Regions from separate parts of the Homo sapiens genome. Here region 1 is linked to region 2. Evidence: promoter capture Hi-C in human tissues and cell types (Jung and others, 2019). All regions are on one chromosome and are shown on one strand. Each heading gives the region's core, a stretch centred on a gene start or on the middle of the fragment in contact. The rest is flanking DNA. Distances are from core to core; before and after follow the strand shown. Region 1 has its middle 18 kb from the start of DAPK2. Region 2 holds the start of TPM1 (tropomyosin 1).

Region 1 (2,700 bases), core at 132-2,631, 1.0 Mb before region 2:
CTTTAATACTTTTATGATTTTATTTTTAAACATTTCAATCTTTGAGTCATTTGGAATTTACACTGGCATAAGTACTCAGTATAATTTACTAAATACTCAGTATAAATACTCAGTACAGACTACTGAGAATTTATACTGGTATAAATGCTGAACCAACTCAGTTTTGTATCCAGATGACTAGTTATTGTCTTGACATCCCTTATTGAATAGTTTATCTTATCCATGACCATTATTTTCAAACCCTACGTTATGAATCATATGATGATCACAGCATCATTTTTTATCATGAAAAATGTGCAACTTAATGACTAACAACATGTAAGGCATTAAATAATTGATACTACACTTATTTAATGGAATCTTGATGTTTTCAAAGACTCTTTAATTACATGGGAAATTCTCAAGACAAAATTAAGACAGGCAAGATACAAAATAATATATGCCAAGTGATCCCAATTAAAAACAAGAGTGTATTTATGTATAAAAATAGAAGAAATATCAACATTTTAAGAGTATTTTATTTCTGTCTTTTAAAAAGTTTATCTGCAATGAATGTTTCCTTTTGATAAGTTGATAACCCCTAATAAATATTATTTAAAACACCAAAAAAGACTCATGTACGCAGGGCACAGTGGCTCACGTCTGTAATCCCAGCACTTTGGGAGGGCAAGGTGGGAGGATCGATTAAGGCTAGGAGTTTGAGACCAGCCTGGGCAACATAGCAAGACCCTGTCTCTACAAAAATAAATTAAAATAGTTGGGCATAGTGGCATGTGCCTGCCATCCTAGGTACTAGGGAAGCTAAGGCGGAGGGTCACTTGAACTCAGGAGGTCGAGGCTGCAGTGTGCTGTGATTGCACCACTGTACTCCCACCTTGGTGACACAGCAAGACCTTGTCTTTAAAACAAAACCAAAACACCTCTTGTGGTATATGTGTCTTTTATAAAACCATTTTTAAAAATATATTTTTAAGGTGGGAAATACAATGTATTTTCTCTCTTGGGAAAGTTTCCCTTGATTTTATCCAAACTCTTGGGGGCTGGAGCTGTAGCCCACTGCTCACATTCTTAGCTATTTCTAATGTATTTTCTATTTCATGTCTCCTCAGGTGTCTCCTACAGCTACTGGTGTGTTTTTTGCATATTGGCCTTCCAACATTTCTTGTTGAATTATTTCAGGCTCACCTTGGTCATAATGAGTGGATCTGGCTTTACCCAGGGCTTCAGCCTTTAGCATTTCACATGAGGAATATCCACTGAGCTGGGGGTCAAGAGGCCTGACCTTTAATCTTGGCTCTGCCCCAGGCAAGTGTGAACTTGGGTAAGTCACTCTTGCTCTGGTGGGCCTCCTTCTGTCTTCTATAAAGTTAATGTGTTAGGTGATCTCTAAAGTTCCTTCTGGTTTTGAATGTCTAACTATAGAAGCCACAGTGAATGTTGGCTTTCTAGGGGTTCCGAGGATCCTTTAGCATCATTAACAACAAGCGAGATTAATACTGAGTTTGGTCTACAGTTGCTAATCCACTGATTCATGCAGAATTAAAAATGATCATGACCTTTTACCAAAACTTATTAGCTTAATAAATCTCTCTGTGTGTGAGTGTGTGTGTGTGTGTGTGTGTGTGTGTGTGTGTTTGCTTTTTTTTTTTCCTGCAACCTCCACCTCCTGGGTTCAAGCAATTCTCCTGCCTCAGACACCCGAGTAGCTGGGATTACAGGTGCCCGCCACCACGCCCAGCTAATTTTTTGTGTTTTTAGTAGAGATGGGGTTTCACCATGTTGGCTAGCCTGGTCTCAAATTCCTGACCTCGTGGTTCGCCTGCCTGGGCCTCCCAAAGTGCTGGAATTATAGGCATGAGCCACCGTTACCGACCTGCTTTTTGTTTTTTAAGGAGTGTTATGGTTCCTAGGCTTTTTTTGTTGTTGTTCTGATTAAGCAAATTTAGCTAAACTGGGTCCTGTCAACTGAGTTTTCTTGTAGCTGGATGCCTCAGGCTGTCACAACTGTGGGTGTTTTTTGTTTTGGTTTTTGTTTTTTTTTGGCTACATTAAGCTGAGTCTATTCAGATGAGACAGAATGTAAAGTGAGTATGTGTGCAAGATTGCCTTGCAAGGTGAAACTTACCAAGTTGCAGAGCCTTGTGAGACCTACATTTCTCCCACTGAAAAACGTGGCTACCATCAGGGACAGTGAGGGCTAATTTTGTGTTAATCTAATTCTCCAACTTCATTTTACAGGTAAGAACACTGAGGCCAGGAAATGTTGAGTGACGTGTCCATACTCACATAGCATGGAAGAATCAGAGGCCATGGGGTCAGGACCTATGGGCTTAGGATATACCGGAAGAGGCCTGATTTCCAGTCGAGCATTTGCCAAAAATCAGCAGCGTGATTTGGGCAAGTCATTTTCCCTATTGATTAAAGTGAATTAACAGAACACAGTGCAAAATTTTCTAGGTTCCTTATCTATTTTGTGGATTGAAAATAGGGTCCAGGTAGATTGACAGACATAGAACTTCCTGGTGAAATAAATGGGACGTAGCTGGACACAATAATCAAGATATGATTTTACTCATTTTGCCATTTTCATCATTTTCTGAAGGATATTTACAGTTTAATGTGTCTTCACATTAGCAATGTTTGATGCTCTTGGCAATTATTTTCCTCTTAGCAAGATTTTGCAAAAGAATACATTACCCT
Region 2 (2,700 bases), core at 1-2,500:
AGGGGGGTGCAGCAGGCAGCGTGATCCCGAAGGGGAGGGGTGTGGGTGCACAGAACCAGAAGGACAGGGACAGCGGGAGAGACAGAGGGAAAGACAGGGAGGGAGAGAGAGAAAGAGAAAGAGTTAGCCATTCGTGCGCCACGCCGTGCCGCGCGCCCCGGGTACCTTGGCGGCGGCCTCTTCGGCGGCCAGGAGGCTGTCCTCCGCCTTGTGCAGCTCCTCCAGCACCCGGTCCCGCTCGTCCTCCGACACCCGCAGCAACTTCTCCTTGGCCGCGATGTCCTCCTCGAGCTGGGGGCAGCGGCGGGCGGGCGCGGGCGGCCGGCACGGACCGGGTGTTAGACACACACAACACACGGGCGTCGGGTTGGCTGGGGCCCCTCGGGCTCGGGGCGCCGCCGAGTTGGAGTGCAAAGGACCCGAGGTAACTTCCTCTTTACCCGAGCTGGAACCGCTCCGCGGCTCACCCCGCACACCCACCTGCCCTGGGACGAGACTCCTGCCGAGGTCTCAGCGGGCTCAAGTCCACTACTTGGGGACACAGAAGAACGCCACTGCTGGCCTGGCTTTCGGGCTGTAGCCTCCATTCCGCCCCATCTTTGTTCTTAGGTAACAACTCCAGGACTCCCTTCTCCTCCCCAAGTTTAAGGTTCCTTTCTCCCCAGTCAAAAGTCAACGAACTTCTAACACTTGAGTTACTCGACCCCCTTTCTCCATCCCTCGCCCTTCCTTCAAACGTCCCCAGGAACCGGGTGTCCTCCTCCCTCCCCCAAACTGATTCCCAGTCCTGAGAATAAAGCGCCTCTAGGACTTGATTTCGCGGGCCATGGGAACCAGAGAAGGGAAATAAGCGTCCTCAGACCAGACTAAGTTAGACTAAGCCTGGCTCTTGCGTTTCCCTTCCTTCTTTCCAGACGCGCGCCCTGGCCGCCCTGGGTGGTGGTGGGGGTAGGGTGGTGGCTCCCCGAGTCCTCGGGGTGGGGATCCAGCCGGGGGTGCCAGGCTCGAGTCCCGGCGCTCTGGGCGCGGGCGCAGGGCCGGGGAGGCGCAGACCTGCTTGCTCCTGTCTTCCGCCGCCTTCTTGTCGGCCTCCGCCTGCTCAGCTCGATCCAAGGCGTTCTCCTTGTCGAGCTTCAGCATCTGCATCTTCTTCTTGATGGCGTCCATGGTGGCGGCGGCGAGGGGCCCTGGGGCTGCAGCAGGAGCGGCGGGGCGAGCGCGCGGTCGGGCGGAGGAGCGGGAGTGCGAGCGCGGAGCCGCCTGCTTCTCCCAGATATGTACTTTCCCAAGGGGGCGACCGCATTCCTCAAGACAGCCAATACTTTTTTGGAAAAGCTTTTTTCTCCTGCCCCCCTTCCTCCTCTCCTCCCTCCGCCCCGTGCCCCCTCCCCGCTCCTCCCGCGGGGGCCGCTCGCCCATTCGCTGCCGGCCGCCGGCCTCCCAGTTGACGGTGGATATGACTATATATGGGGACCCGAGCCGCCGAGGCGGCGGCCGGAGAGGCCGCCCTGTTTCTAAACCTGCGCGCCAGGGAGAGGGCGTTGGGGCCGAGCCGGGGCCGAGGCGCAACCCTCCGCCCTCCGCGTGCCCTTCTCCCAGGGCCGGCACCCAGCCATTAGGGTCCCCAACCGAGCCCGCCCTGAGCTGCCGGAGGCCGGGAGAGCGCGGACCAGGTGGTGGATGCGCGTCGCCCCCCTGTGCCGTCCCCCGGCGCGCTTAGCCAAAGGCCCGGGGGCTTCCCAGCCGTGCTGCACCCCGCGTCAGGGTCAGTGCGCTCTCGGCACCCGCCAGCGCCTCCCCGGCAGCTCTCAGCCAGCCAGGTGTCATCCTGCGCGCTCACGCTCTGGAAACTCAACTGCAGCAGAGAAAGGGAGAACGTGGGAGAAAGCCTGGGGCGGCTCTTGAGACTTTCTCTGCGGGCGCGGGTCAGAGAGGCAGGGGGCGGCACAGCGACAGCACACGGAGTCTTGTTTTCTGCCTGCCCTTTCCCCCAGCGGAGGGACAGTCAAATACTTTAGGGACACAGGACTCAGTGGCGTACTTCTGTGCTTGCTGTGCAGTGCCTCCAAAAAGGTGTGCATGTGTGCGTGTGTGTGCGGGTGGCAGTCTAAGGGGAAAGAACATTGAGTTTAGACTCAGGCAATTTGGTCTGTGGTCTCTACTCTGCCACCAGCAACTGTGAGACCTTGTTTGCTGCCCGCGGCTTCCTCAACTTTAAATCCAGCGGGTAGATAATCCCCGAGGTCCCTCCAGATATAACTTGTTATCATTTTTCTTGCACTGATTTTAGGGAGTCGGCCTTCCATGTTAGATGCTTAGGTGCCAGGTTTCGGAAAACATGGGATCGGCGTTAACCTGGCTAAGTCATTGCATCCGCAGCCGCAACTCTGAGGAGGCTCTGCCGTGTGAGCTGTGCTTGGAAGGAGGAGGATTTCCCCCAACACTTCTTATTTTTAACTACTCCTCCCATCTCCCAAGGGGGAAAGGCTGCTTTTTTTCAGAGCTTCAGTGGGAGGGGAGGAGAGGGGGCTGCCCCCAAGCCCTGAGATCAGCTGAGGCAGGGTTGGTGAGGGTCTTGTTAATAGTCCCCACAGAATAATTCACAGTCTGTACTGCATGGTTACCAAATATTCCCCGGACGGTATCTGAGCAGATTAGGCAGGCCAAACAACTTGTAAGTCCTTCAGAGAATGATCAAAT

The links. The method cuts DNA at HindIII sites, captures the fragments that hold promoters and counts their contacts. A contact is called where the count stands out against the background at its distance.
Region 1: a fragment that was not itself captured here is called in contact with the fragment with the promoter of TPM1 in region 2 in 1 of the 25 tissues and cell types used here (lymphoblastoid cells).

The regions. Positions count from the first base shown.
Region 1 is chr15:64,062,857-64,065,556 of GRCh38, reverse strand. No RefSeq gene overlaps it. Among named protein-coding and RNA genes, the nearest start is that of DAPK2, 18 kb to the right of the region's middle. The HindIII fragment of the contact is 3,825 bases long and covers 1-2,700 here.
Region 2 is chr15:63,041,297-63,043,996 of GRCh38, reverse strand. TPM1 (tropomyosin 1) reads right to left here and starts at 1,250. Exons shown (of 10, transcript NM_001018005.2): 1 at 1,054-1,250. The coding sequence starts at 1,167. RefSeq lists enhancers at 1-478, 1,392-2,306. The HindIII fragment of the contact is 3,976 bases long and covers 188-2,700 here.